Regions from separate parts of the Homo sapiens genome. Here region 1 is linked to region 2. The links are contacts of gene promoters, found by promoter capture Hi-C in blood cells and fetal thymus (Javierre and others, 2016). All regions are on one chromosome and are shown on one strand. Each heading gives the region's core, a stretch centred on a gene start or on the middle of the fragment in contact. The rest is flanking DNA. Distances are from core to core; before and after follow the strand shown. Region 1 overlaps ZNF266 (zinc finger protein 266). Region 2 holds the start of ZNF562 (zinc finger protein 562).

Evidence for each region. The method cuts DNA at HindIII sites, captures the fragments that hold promoters and counts their contacts. A CHiCAGO score of 5 or more calls a contact.
Region 1: a fragment that was not itself captured here is called in contact with the fragment with the promoter of ZNF562 in region 2 in 1 of 17 cell types (erythroblasts); the score reaches 5.8 in erythroblasts.

The regions. Positions count from the first base shown.
Region 1 is chr19:9,408,447-9,415,752 of GRCh38, forward strand. It overlaps ZNF266 (zinc finger protein 266), which reads right to left. Exons shown (of 11, transcript NM_001370374.1): 10 at 7,208-7,296; 11 at 3,983-6,274. The coding sequence ends at 4,829. Among named protein-coding and RNA genes, the nearest start is that of ZNF266, 23 kb to the right of the region's middle. The HindIII fragment of the contact is 978 bases long and covers 4,085-5,062 here.
Region 2 is chr19:9,669,435-9,677,109 of GRCh38, forward strand. ZNF562 (zinc finger protein 562) reads right to left here and starts at 5,666. Exons shown (of 6, transcript NM_001130031.2): 1 at 5,581-5,666. RefSeq lists enhancers at 4,635-5,834, 5,373-5,872, 5,551-5,610, 5,873-6,872. The HindIII fragment of the contact is 670 bases long and covers 5,322-5,991 here.

The DNA.
Region 1 (7,306 bases), core at 3,324-5,823, 260 kb before region 2:
CACCTGAGGTCAGGAGTTCAAGACCAGTGTGGCCAACATGGTGAAACCCCGTCTCTACAAAAAATATAAAAATTAGCTGGGCATGGTGGGAGATGCCTGTAATCCCAGCTGCTCGGGAGGCTGAGGCATGAGAATCACTTGAACCCAGGAGGCAGAGGTTGCAGTGAGCTGAGATTGTGCCACTGCACTCCAGCCTGGATGACAGAGCAAGACTCTTAAAATAAAAAAATTAAAAAAAAGAGTGTGGCTATATTGGCTTTTGGCCTTTCTCAAGAGAGAAACCTCAAGACCGAGTTGGAAAATAAACATTAATACTAAAAAATGATACCAACGTATGATCCAGCAATTCCACTTCTGGGTATATTAATCAAAAAGTTGAAAGCAGGTACTGGAAGAGCTATTTGTACACCCATGTTCATGGCAGCTTTATTCACAATATTGAAAAGGTGAAAGCAAATCAAACTGTGGTATAGCCATACAATAGATTATCCAGCCTTAAAAAAGGAAATTCTGAGATGTGCAGAATTTGAACATGAACATGAACATGTTCCTTGAACATGTTCCTTGATCATGAACATGAACATGAACCTTGAACATGTTACGCTAAATGAAATAAACTAGTCACAAAAAGTCAAATACTGGGACTTCACTTTTATGAGGTACCTACAGTAGTGGGGTTAACACAGACACATGTTGGAACAACTAAGTTCCTCTTCAAAGACTCAACTTTCTGATCATAAGTTATAAAAGTTGTACATCAATCCTACCCCCTTTCTTCTCTTCTGTTTCCACAAATCGCACATTTACCCTATTTGGAAAAGTTTAAGTCTTAGCCAATCGGGATCAGCTTAGATTGTGCAGTCCAATCCCAGCCAATTGGGGGACGACACAGAAACAGGAACTGCATTAAATTAAAAACTCCTTCCCTTCTTTGTTCATCGTGCTCTTGCGATCGTAACGGGCACAAGCAGCACCCTTCTGCAGAAGTAAAGGTGCCCTGCGGAGAAATTTTCTAGGGGGTTTCTTTTGGCTATGTCGAGCACTTGTTTCCAACAGAGAATTGAATGGTGTTTGCCAGAGATTGGGAAGGGAGCAGTAGGGAGTTAGTGTTTACTGGGTTCAGTTTGGGAAGATAAACATTTTTTAGTGGGATGATGGTGACAGTTGCCCAACAATGTGAGTATACTTAATGCCAGCGAAGTGGACACTTAAAATGGTTAAAATGTAAACTTTATGTAATATACTTTACCACAATTCTTAAAAAGTGAATAGAGGATTATTAGTTTTATTTAATGAAGCCTCCAAAAACCAGAGATCTGGGGCAAAAGAAATTCAAAAGCAGTTTGGCTAGCAGTGCATTTTATACAGTCTCTGCTAAATAAAATACCCACTGATAAGTAAAGGGTTTGGAATTGTATTGCTAACATTAGATTTATACATTAGAAACGTGTGTTTAAAACAGACATTCTCTATCAACTGGCAAATAAAAGATTTTTAAAGGATTAGGTTTTAAAATAAGTATTAAATTAGATGCTGCACCAAAGAATATATTGGTTTAAAAAATTGCTCAGTGCCGGGTGCAGTGGCTCATGCTTGTAATCCCAGCACTTTGGGAGGCCAAGAGGGGCAGATCATCTGAGGTCAGGAGTTCAAGACCAGTCTGGCCAACATGGCAAAACCCCATCTCTACTAAAAATACAAAAATTAGCTGGGCGTGGTGGCACGTGCCTGTAATCCCAGCTACTGAGGCGTCTGAGGCAGGAGAATCACTTGAACACGGGAGGCAGAGGTTGCAGTGAGCCAAGATCTCTCCACTGCACTCCAGCCTGGGCAACAAGAGCAAAATTCCATCTCAAGAAAAAAAAAAAAAAAAAAAAAAAAAAAAGCTCAGCTGCTGTGTCAGAGAATTAAACAATGAGTTAAAAACCTAACACTAAACAGTATTTTTAAATGTCCTCATCCTGTCCTCACCCAGATTCCAAGCATCAAGGAGTCACGCTCTTGAGGAAAGGTGCGCCTTGTCCAGGAGCTCCAGAAGCCACCTGTGCAGAAATTTCACCAGTCTCCAAGTCCTGCAGAGCAGTCACATGGCACTCCAGACCCACCCTGCAATCCACTGCCCCAAAAGTCACCATGGGGTGAACACAGCTCAACATTGGTGGAAGGTGTGGGTGCCTTAACGCATTCATTAACCAATAACTGTGGGCTTTGCTCTAGAGACAGAACTAAAGCCCCCACCCTCTTCTACTCTGTTAGTGGAGCCTGCGGTTTTTATGGGCACAGGATGAGGGCGGGGCAGGCCATGAGTGGTTTTGAAAAAGGCAACATTTGAACTGGAAAAGAAGGATGTGAAGTTATCACTTTGGGCCAATCTGAAAAGTTACGTACTGCACAATTCCAACTCTATGACATTCTGAAAAAGGCGAAACTATGGAGACAGTAAAAAGATGAGTGGTTGTCGGGCTGGGGAGAGGGAGGGAGGAATAGTGGGAGGACCGATGATCTGTGGACTTTGGGTGATAATGAAGTGGCAATGCAGGTTCATGAATTCTAACAAATGTATTACTCTGGTGGAGTATGTTGATGATGGTGGAAGCTATGCATATGTAGTGGCCGCAGGAATATAGGATGTCTTTGAACCTTCCACACTATTTTGCTGTGAACCTAAAACTGCTCTGAAACATGGATTTTTTGTTTTGAGACAGCGTCTGACTCTGTCACCCAGGCTAGAGTGCAGTGGCACAATCTCAGCTCACTGCAACCTCCTTCTGGGCTAAAATGATTCTCCTGCCTCAGCCTCCTGGGTAGCAGGGACTATAGGCATAAGCCACCATGCCCAGCTAAGTTTTGTCTTTTTTGTAGAGGCGGGGTTTCACCAGGTTACCCAGGCTGGTCTTGAACTCCTGAGCTCAAGCAATCCACTCACCTCAGCCTCTCAAAGTGCTGAGATTACAGCTCTGAGCCACTGCACCAGGTGAACACGGATATTTTAAAAGAGTAATAAAACATTTTCAATTGGTCAGAGTTTTCCAATCTGAGAAGTCAACATTATTTAGCTGAACTACCACTCTCCAAAACCTCTTACACTAATAGGATTTCTCTCTACTGCAAAACCTTACTTAAGCAATCCCTGAGATAACAGCAAAGGGCTTTCCATGTTTCACAGACTGTGTGGTCTCATTGCAAGTTACTTCCTGCTGGGTTGTGAAGAGATTCTGACAGCTTTCCCATATTTCTTACATTCACATGGCTATGAACTGTGATACAGTAAGATATGAGAAGCAAATGAAGTACTTCCTGCATCCTTTTTATAATCACAGGGTTTTACCCCAGTGTGAATTCTCACAAAGATATTAAGGCTTGAGCAATGAAATAAGGTGACACCATATCCCTGGGATACACAGGTTCTTCCTCCAATGTGAGATTTCATGTTAACATTATGGCATGTGAGATATTTAAAGGTTGCCATACATTCCCCTACATTCCCAGGACATTTGCAGTCTAATTTTATTTTATTTTTTTTGAGACAGAGTCTTGCTTTGTCACCCAGGATGGAGTGTAGGGGTCTTGGCTCACTTGCAGTCTAATTTTAGATATGTAAAATGAGCCTCGTGGAATTAGTAAAAGCTTTCCCACGTGCCTTACAGCAGAAGTGTTCTCTACACTGTGAATTTTTATTTCTCATGTAAGGTATAAACATTTAATGAAATCTCTCCACATTACTAATAATGGAGCCTCAGTCCACTCTAAGTCACTAAATGTTGGGTGAAGTCACATTTATGACTTTCATAGTAAAAGAAACTTTCTCTTCTTGATGGTCTTTGATTTTCACAGGGCCTATCACCACAAGAGTTGGAAGTGAGTATTAAGATCTGATGAGCACTTACAGACTTCTTCACATGTCCTACATTCATAGAACGTCTCTCCTGTGATTGCTTTTGTGTTTACACTAACACTAATGATAGCTAATGAACGGAAAAAATAATCACAAAAAAATTTTATTATGTTTGAAGAAAGCTTAAAAATTTGTGTTGGTCTGCATTCAAAGCCATCCTGGCCTGCGGGTTGGACAAGCTTGATCTAAAGCTTTTCCCAAGTTCCTCACAGTATTAGTTTCCTAGGGTTGCTGTACAAAATAACAGACTGAATGATTTAACCAAGAGAAATTTATTGCCTCACAGTTCTGGAGCCTGGAAGTGCAATATCAAGGTGGAGACAGGGTTGGTTTCCTCTGGAGGCCATAATGAAAGCATCTGTTCCAGGTCTCTGTCCTTGGCTTGTAGATGGCCATCTTCTGGTGGATCCACACAGTCTTCTCCATGTGTATCCTTCCTTCAGTTTCCCTTATAGGGACACCAGTGATGTCAGATTAGGGATCGAACCCAACAACCTCATTTGAAGTTACTCACCTGTTTGAAAACCCTATGTCCAAATACAGTTATAGTGTAAGGAACTAGGACTTAGGGCTTACAAATATGGAGTGGGGCATCATCCAGACCATACCATTTAAATTGCAGGGTTTCTCTCCAATGTGAGTTCACATACACACATTAAGGTTTGTGGGATTCAGAAAGGTATTCCCAGATTCTCTACATTCATACAGTTTCTCTCCAGTGAGATTTCTGATGTGTTTGGTAAGGCTTGAGAATTCAGCAAAGTCATTTCCACATTCCCTGATGCAGGGTCTTCTCCACTGTGAATTCATATGTGTTCATTAAGACCTGAGATACAAAGTTGCTTCCACATTTTTACATTCATAGGGTTTCTCCCCAGTGAGTTTTCATGTCTTCAGAGAGAACAGGGACACCTTTAGGTTTTCCCACATTCCTTATGCTGACAGTCTCTCATCCGCATGCCTTCTTTCATGATTTCGAAAGGAACTGGAAGAACTGAAGGCTTTCCCGCACTCCTTACATTCATAGGGTTTCTCTCCAGTGTGAGTTCGTTCATGTAACTGAAACGAATTGGAGTAACTGAAGGATTTCCCACACTGTTTACATTTGTAGGGTTTTTCTCCAGTGTGGATCCGCATGTGAAGGTTAACACACGTGGGAAACTTAAAAGCTTTGCCACATTCCATACACGTGAATGGTTTTTTGGCGCTGTGGGTCCGCATGTGATTATTAAGACTGGAGGAATGCGTAAATGCTTTACCACATTCCAGGCACTCAAAGGGCTTCTCTCCAGTGTGAATTCTCAAATGTCCACTAAGATTTGAAGAAATAGCAAAGGCTTTCCCACATTTGACACATTCAAAAGGCTTCTCTCCAGTGTGAGTTCTTGTATGTTCACTAAGGCGAGAGGATCTGGCAAAGGCCTTTCCACATTCCTTACATTCATAGGGCCTCTCTCCACTGTGAGTTCGTGCATGCTTAGTAAGGTCTGAGTTCTGAGTGAAGGCTTTCCCACAATCCTTACATTTATAGGGTTTTATTCCAGTGTGAATTCGAAAGTGATCACTGAGGCATGAGGAATTTCTAAAGGATTTTCCACATATCTTACATTCAAAGGGATCCTTTGCAGTGTGAGTTTTTAAATGTTCAGTAAGTTGAGAAGATCTAGTGAAGGCTATCCCACATTCCTTGCATTCATAAGGCTTCTCACCCACATGGATTTTCATATGTTGACTTAAGCAAGAGGAAACAGTGAAGGCTCTCCCACAATCCTTACATTTATAAGGTTTCTCTCCAGTGTGAGTTTTTCTGTGCTGAGTAAGTTGACAAGACCTGGTGAAGGCTTTCCCACACTCCTTACACTCATAGGGATTGTCTCCAGTGTGGGTTCCCATGTGAATATTAAGGTATGCAGAATATCTAAATCCTTTTCCACATTCCTTACATTTGTAGGGTTTTTCTGACCTGTGAGTTTGTATACGCACAGCAAGGTCTGTGGAGTGAATAAAGCCTCTCCCACATTCCTTCCATTCATGGAGACTTTCTCCATTGTGAGTTCTTAAATGTCCCTGAAGGTGTGAATGATTAATGAAGGATTTCCCAGAGTCACTGCAATCAAAAGCTTTCTCTCCTGTGCACGTTCTCTGGCAAACAACATCTGGGTTCAGGCTGAAGGCTTTTCCACACTGACTAAATACAGAACGTTGCTCTCCAGTAGAGGTTTTCTTGTGCAGAGTAAGGAAGTCTACTCCATACAGATAACACTCAAATGTGTTCTCACTATTTTGAGTTCTCACATGTGTCTTAAGGCATGAGTGTTCACTGGAGACATCTCCACATTGCTTAACATCACTGACCTCCCCTCCGTTGTGGCTTCCTATCTGTTGATAAAGGAATGAATGATGATTAAAGGACGGTTCAGATTGATTAACAGATTCCACTCATCTGAAGAGAGGAACACTGTGATGATTATTATCATGTTTACCATTTTCATTACACACATATAAGTAATGCCCTTTTGATTTCTTTCCAGCGGAATGACAAAAAACTCCTGCCAGGCTGTGCCATCTACTCTAATCTCAAATGTCTGTAGAGTTTTATGAAATTGTCTTAAAAACTCACTATCTAGTTACAAATGTGTACTTGAGGGGAACTCTAAAACACCTAAGTGTTGGCTGGGCGCAGTGGCTCACGCCTGTAATCCCAGTGCTTTGGGAGGCCAACGTGGGCAGATCACCTCAGGTCAAGAGTTCAAGACCAGTCTGGCCAACATGGTGAAACCCTGTCTCTACTAAAAGTACAAAAACTAGCCGGGCATGGTGGCACGTGCCTGTACTCCCAGCTACTCAGCAGGGTGAGGCACAAGAATCGCTTGAACCCAGGAGGTGGAGGTTGCAGTGAGCCAAGATCATGCCACTGCATTCCAGCCTGGGTGACAGACCAAGACTCTGTCTAAGAAAAAAACAACAATAAGTGTCAAGCTAGATTTCAAGCATCCCCAGGTCATCGTATTCTGAGTCTCTCTCCAGAGTCATTATCCCTTTTGGGAATGCTACTTATCTCAAAGAGCTCTCATTCTGCTAATTTTCTTTTTCTTTTAATGTAATTAAATTTAGTTTTTAGCGCCAAGATCTTGCTACGTTGACCAGGCTGGTCTAGAACTCCTGGCCTCAAGTGATCCTCCCACTTCAGCCTCCCAAAGTGCTGGGATTACAGGTGTGAGCCACCATTCCCAGCTTTATTCTGATTTTCTATAATGGAATCCCCAATCATCTCTAAATGTGAAAACTAAGACGTATCCTTGTTAATCTTACCATTTGAATCCCACTGGAGGTTGGCTCCCCCAAAACATCCTGCTGAAGGGCTAACTCTTTGGTTTTAAGTTGCACTTTCCATTCTGAAGCTGAAGAGAA
Region 2 (7,675 bases), core at 4,416-6,915:
TATAAAAAAGACAGGGAATAACAAATGCTGATGAGGATATGGTGAAAAGATAATCCTTGTATGCAGTTGGTGGGAATATAAATTAGTACAGCCACTGTAGAGAACAATATTCAGGTGTGGTGGCTCAGGCCTTTAATCCCAAAACTTGAGGCTGCGGTGGGAGATCACTTGAGCCCAGGAGTTCCAGACCAGGCTAGGCAACACAGCAACACCTGTCTGTACACACATGCACGCACAAAACCTGTCTGAAACTGGCAAGACCTGTCTGCATGCACGCGCGCGAGCGCGCGCGCGCGCGCGCACACACACACACACACACACACACACACACACACACACACAACCAGTCAGGGACAGTAGCTCATGCCTGTAATCCCAGCTCTTTAGGAGGCCAAGGCAGGCAGATCATTTGAGGTCAGGAGTTTGAGACCAGCCTGGTCAACATGGTGAAACTCTGTCTCTACTGAAAATACAAAAATTAGCTGGGCATGGTGGCGTGCACCTGTAGTCCCAGCTACTCCAGAGGCTGAGGTAAGAGAATTGCTTGAACCCAGGAGGCGGACGTTGCAGTGAACCAAGATCGTGCCACTGCACCCCAGCCTGAGTGACAGAGTGAGACTCTGTCTCAAAAAATCAAAGAAACAAACAAAAAAACTTAGCCAGGTGTATTAGTGGAGGCCTGTAGTCCTGGCTACTCAGGAAGCTGAGGTGGGAGGATCACCTGAGCCCAGGAAGTCAAGGCTGCAGTGAGCCATGATTATGCCATGGCACTCTAGCCTGGGTGACACAGCAAGACTATCTCAAAAAAAACAAAACAAAACAAAAAAAACAGTATGGGGGTTTCTCAAAAAATTAAAAATAGAACTACCATATGATCTGGAATCCCATTGGGTATATATCCAAAAGAAAGGAAATCAATATATTTGAAAAGATATATATACATTCCCTTGTTTACCGCAGCACTACTCATAATAGCCAAAATATGGAATCAACCTAAGTGTCTAACAATGAAAGAATGAATAAAGAAAATATGGTATATATAGACAGCAGATTATTATTCAGCCATAAAGAGAATGGAATTCTGTCATTTGCAGCAACTGGATAGAACTGGAGGTCATCATGGAAGTGAAATAAGCCAAGCACAGCAGACAAATACCCCATATTCTCACATGTGGGAGCTAAAAAGTGGATCTCATGAGCATAGAGTACAGATTGATGGTTACTAGAGGCCAGAAGGGTAGGAAGGAGACGGAGATAAAGAGAGGTTGATTAGGCTGAGTGAGGTGGCTCATGCCTGTAATCCCAGCACTTTAGGAGGCCAAGGCGGGCAGATCACCCTGATTATGTGAGATCAGGAGTTCGAGACCAACCTGTCCAATATGGTAAAACCCCGTCTCTACTAAAACTACAAAAATTAGCCGGGTGTGGTGGTGCACCCCTTAATCCTAGCTACTCGGGAGGCTGAGGCAGGAGAATCACTTGAATCCGGGAGGAGGCAGAGGTTGCAGTGAGCCAAGATCATGCCACTGCATTCTAGCCTGGGTGACGGTGAGACTCCATCTCCCAAAAAAAAAAAAAAAAGAGGTTGATTCATCGGTAAAATATACAGTTAGAAGAAATAAGAACTGGTATTCAATAGATCAGTAGGGTGACTACACTTAATACGCATCTATCATACATTTCAACACAGCTAAGAGAATAACGATGTTCCTACAATATAGAAAAGATAAATATTTAAGGTGACAGGTATGCTACTTACCCTGATTATGTGAATGTATCAAATTATCACATGTACTCTGAAAATATGTTCATCTATTATGAATCAAAAAAATTTTTCTGGATTGTAAAATAGGGAGTGGGAGATTCTGGGGCCACCATGTCTGTGGGTAAAGATATTCCCTTGTCTGGATCATGTAAAGACATCCCTCCAAGATGTCACTCCAAGTTACTGCACCTAATACCACCTACCATTAACAAGGAGCAATGAGCCATGATTATGCCATTGCTCTCCAGCCTGGGTGATCCAGCAAGACTTTGTCTCAAAAAAAGAAAAAAAACCCAGCATGGAGGTTTCTCAAAAACTACCATCCATAGACCTCTTGAATTTTGGAGGCAACACATACATTTGCATGTACTTTAACGCCCCACACAGTTACCTGTAAGGATTCTAGTTTCAACTGTAGACAAGAGCAATTTCAGGCTGCAATGCAAGCTTCCTAAGCACTTGGTCCACCTGATCCAGCAGACCCAGTGATACTCAACGTGTCCATGTTAAATGGCATGTTATTTATTGGAAGCCTCCGGCATGCACCAACAGAAGATGTAGAGTACAGCCCTCTGGTATTGCAGAGTCAATCCATGCCCTCTTGTGCAGATTAACTGTTTTTCTCTTGAGAAACAGGTTGTGGTTTGCCACTAGCACATGACAGAGAATGAACAACTAGTCATGGGACATGAAGTAACTAAGGCTGAACTGAGTAATTTGAGACTTTCTGGTCCCCAAAGCATGAAGTACATACTGTCACCCATTATCAAACAACTGTTGTCAGCCTCTCCTCTGGACCCAATTCCAAGTTTGTAGGAAATCGCATGAAATAAAGGAATATTTACACACACCATGAGAATCCAATCAGAAATATCTGATTGTATGACTTTCTAAGAGAATGAGTGTGACTCTCTGAAAGTCAATATAATGGACAGTAATAACTGTTATAGGCAAAAAGACACTGAAGACACTGACAATTGCAATGCAAAAATCTTGAATGGATCTTAGATCCAAAAACACCCAAGAGCATACGTTGAATCAATGAGGAGAATTTTAGTTATTACGGAAAGTAGACATTAGATGACATTATTATTTTTAATTTAAGTGAAATACTAGTATTGTGGTTTTAGTATGACAATGCCTATTTTTAGGAGGTGCATTACAAAGTATTTAAAGGTCAAGCATCACATGTACAATTTATGCTCAATTTACACTCAAATTGTTCACTGTAAGATTTACATGAGGAGAAAGAAATAAAATGCTAAAAAATTAAGTAAATCTACTAGACTGGGTGTGTTAGATGTTCAAGTTTTCCTTAGGATCAAATTTTTCAGAAAAAAATGTAAAAACTACACTTAGTCCAAACATGCTCTTAATAAATTATACAGATACTAGATATTTTATTACACTGATACTAGAATACTATTCTGATTATAATAGTAAATAATTCTAGTGTCAGTGTAATAAAGCCTCCATTCTTTCTTCCTGGTTCCTGGAGGCCTCTGTTTTGAAGCACTGTGGGGAAGTACAGACCTAAGAACTTCAGATGAAGAGAATAGTTGAGTATTATTGCCTTTCTTTTTTTTTTTTTTTTTTTTTTAGACAGTTTCGCTCTTGTCACCCAGGCTGGAGGGCAGTGGCGGGATCTCGGCTCAATGCAACCTCCGCCTCCCGGGTTAAAGTGATTCTCTTGCCTCAGCCTCCGGAGTAGCTGTGTAAGATACAATATATTTCTCTGAATTTCTCTTCAAAAGTTCAGCCTGTAAACTTCCTTGTTCTTTGTTCTCAAACTCAACTTTCCTGTTCTCCATGCCTCCTTGCCTCTAGTTACTGTAAACAACCTTCCCATCAGCTCTAATCAATAACTCACATCTGTTCCCTTGGCTACTCATTCTGCAGCTATTCCACTCTTTGAAACTGCACATCCCACCATCATGACTCACACATCCCCCTACCCTTCCTTATTTGGGGAAAATATTCACAGATAGCCAATAGGGTCAGTTTAGATTCTGCGGTCTGACCCTAACCCACGGGGGAGAGACACAGAAGTAGGGACCCAGCGTTAGAAATAAAAACCCCTTCCCCTCCCTTATCTGGTGTACTCTCGCCATCACTCCATCCACGAGACTCACCCTTCTATAGAAATAAATTGCGTTGCTGAGAAAACTTTTGCCTGAGTGCTGGTTTCACTTTGCAGCACCCAGCGTTTTATTTTTTTATCTCCAACAGCTGGGATTACAGGGGCCCACCACCAAGCCCGGCTAATTTTTGTATTTTTAGTAGAGACAGGGTTTTACCATGTTGGCTAGGCTAGTCTGGATCTCCTGACCTCAGGTGATCCGCCTGCCTCTGCCTCCCAAAGTGCTGTGATTACAGGTGTGAGCCAGTGCATCTGGCCTGGCTTTAAGTAGAAAGGCTTGCAGCTGGTAACAATTAGAAAAAAAATAACCTGCAAGAAAATAAAAATTAAAAACTAAAGGCTTAGTCTACACGCGTTCATATTTACATACAAAAACGGGCACACCCTAAACAACTATGTTTTTTCCATCTGAATGTAATGTGTCAAAAATAAGTGGCGGGTGGATCACTTGAGGTCAGGAGTTCGAGACCAGCCTGGCCAACATGGTGAAACCCCATCTCTACCAAAAATATAAAAAATTAGCCAGGTGTGGTGGTGCACGCCTGGAATCCCAGCTACTCGGGAGGCTGAGGCAGGTGAATCATGTTATAAAGTTTTCATGCCACAAAAAAAAAGCACTCAAATATAACATTTTCTTTTCTCAGCAAGGCAATTTACTTCTACAGAAGGGTGTGCCCTCACAGATGGAGCAATGGTGAGCACACACCAGGACAAGGGAGGGGAAGGGGTTCTTATTCTTGAGGAAAGTGGCCCCTGCCGCTTTGTCCTTCCCCGATGGCTAGGGTTAGACCCCACAGGCTAAACTAATTCCAATTGGCTAATTTAAAGAGAGTGACAGGGTGAGTGGTTTGTTGGGGAAAATGGTTATAACAGAGCAGGAAATTGGAATGAGTCAGGGTGGAAAATGAGTCAGGGTGGAGTAAGTAATCGAAATAAGTCTGGGTGGAGCAGGTAATCAGAATGAGTCAGGGTGGAGCAGGTGATCGAAAAAGGTTGCTTTACGGAGAAGTTTAAAAGTAGAAGGCAAAGAATTAAACATACTGACATATTGATTTTTTAAAAAGAAATTTAAAACTCATATCTAACAATCACTTGAACCCGGGAGGTGAAAGTTGCAGTGAGCCAACATCGTGCCACTGCACTCCAGCGTGGGCGACAGAGTAAGACTCCAAATCAAAAAAAAAAAAAAAGTAAAGGACATCAAGACAACGCCAGATTCTCAGATGAGACATTTTTTAGCAAATAAATGGAAGTCACAGCCCTCTTGAAACCATTTTTCCGCCGTTGCTCACCAGGAACATGCCGGAAGAGATAGGTTCCAGACGCGGGAGAATGCGGGGCCAGAGCCAACCTCACCAGAAGGGCAGAAATCCTTTTCCTTTCGGAAAGAAAAAAACTCCCAAAGGTTGCTTTCCAAGCTTTTCAAGAGAGGAGCACAGCGGATGAAAGTACTCAAGAAAACACCCGGCGGAGGCGGAACAAACACACTTCCCGACGCAGCCAGACGGACTGTGCGGCCTCTCGGAACTGGCCAGAGGCCGCACCAGGAGGACTGACAGCCCCTAGAAAAGCGAGTGAAACTAGGCGGATCTGAGAGGCTCCTGGGCGACCACGCCCAATCCTTCCTTTGCCGCCCCGCTGGTATGTCCCGGACCCCCAAGCAGGTAGAACTCACCACAGCGGGGTGGACTCCACCACAATAAAGGTTAAACGGCACTGACCATGCTGAGCCACAGCCGGTAAAGATGGCGGTGGCACACTGACGTCACTTCCGCTCCGAGCCTCCGGCCGGGTGGGGCTCCAGGGCTTGAGTTTCAGGCACGTAGGACAAAGAAATTCTAGTTTCCTCCTGGGTGGGTGCCGGACAGTGCCTGGGGTTGGCTCAGGGAGCGGGATGCAGAAACGGGTTCAGAGAAAAAGATGAGTTTAGAACCGGACCTCTGGACGGAACCGTGGGCGAGGGGTGGGGCCCATATTTGGGGGCGGTTTAGAGGTGGGACCCGGCCTAGCCCGCGTTTCAGGTGCCCAGACGGGTTGGAAAGGCGGGGATGGGGGATGGGACGCACCCCAGAGGATGCTCCTCCAAAGCTTATCCTGGGCGGGCTCAGTGGCTCACGCCTGTAATTCCAGCACTTTGGGAGGCTAAGGCAGGTGGATAGCTTGAGTCCAAGAGTTCCAGACCAGCCTGAGTGAAATAGCAAGACCGTGTGTCTTTTTTTTTCTTTTCTTTTTTTTTTTTTTTTTTTTTTTGAGACAGAGTTTCACTCTTGTTGCCCAGGCCTGTGCCCGGCTCGACCCTGTCTCTATTAAAATATATATATAAGGCCAAGCGCCAGTGGTTCACGCCTGTAATCCCTGCACTTTGGGAAGCCAAGGCGGGCGGATCACCTGAGGTCGGGAGTTTGACACCAGCCTGGCCAACATGCTGAAACCCCGTCTCTACTAAAAATACAAAAAAATAGCTGGGTGTGGTGGCAGGCGCTTGTAATCCCAGCTACTCAGGAGGCTGAGGCAGGAGAATCGCTTGAACCCGGGAGGCGGAGGTTGCGGTGAGCCGAGGTTGCGCCACTGCACTCCAATCTGGGGGACAAGAGCGTGACTTCATCTCAAAAAGAAAAAATATATATATATGTGTGTGTGTGTGTGTGTGTGTGTGTGTGTGTGTGTGTGTCAAGCTTTTTTGTATGCCGCTCCTCATGTTCCTGGAGCCTTTCCATGATTCTTCCATATTAAACCTGCCAGTGATAGATGGCATGGTCTGTCTCTTCCATTCAGTCATTCTTTCTGTAGGCCTTTATTTTTTCTTTTTCTTTTTCTTTTTTTTTTTTTTTTGAGACGGAGTCTCTCTCTGTCCCCCAGGCTGGAGTGCAGTGGTGCAATCTCGGCTCACTGCAAGCTCCGCCTCCTGGGTTCACACCATTCTCCTGCCTAGCCTCCTAAGTAGCTGGGACTACAGGCGCCCGCGACCACAACCAGCTAATTTTTTTGTATTCTTAGTAGAGACGGGGTTTCACGGTGTTAGCCAAGATGATCCCCATCTCCTGACCTCATGATCCACCCGCCTCGGCCTCCCAAAGTGCTGGGATTACAGGCGTGAGCCACCGCGCCCAGCCTATTTTTTCATTCTTTATTTTATAGAACCTGCTGTTTCCATTGCGTTTTCTTTTTACTTTTTTTTTTTTTTTTTTTTTTTTTTGAGACTGGAGTCTCACTCTGTTGCCCGGGCTGGAGTGCAGTGGTGCAATCTCAGCTCACTGCAACCTCCGTCTCCTGGGTGCAAGTGATTCTCCTGCTTCAGCCTCCTGAGTAGCTGGGATTACAGGTGGCTGCCACTATGCCCAGCTATTTTTTCTATTTTCAGTACAGAGGGCATTTCACCATGTTGGCCAGGCTGGTCTCAAACTCCTGACCTCGTGATTTGCCCATCTCAGCCTTGCAGAATGCTGGGATTATAGGTGAAGGGGGCCAGCCCCTCCACACCTGTGGGTATTTCTCATCAGGTGGGATGAGAGACTGAGAAAAGAAATAAGACACAGAGACAAAGTATAGAGAAAGAACAGTGGGCCCAGGGGACCGGCGCTCAGCGTCCAGAGGACCCACACTGGCACCAGTCTCTGAGTTCCTTCAGTATTTATTGATTACTATTTTCACTATCTCAGCAAGGGGAATGCAGCAGGAGAACAGGGTGATAGTGGGGAGAAGGTCAGCAAGAAAACATATGAGCAAAGAATCTGTGTCACAGATAAGTTCAAGGGAAGGTACTATGCCTG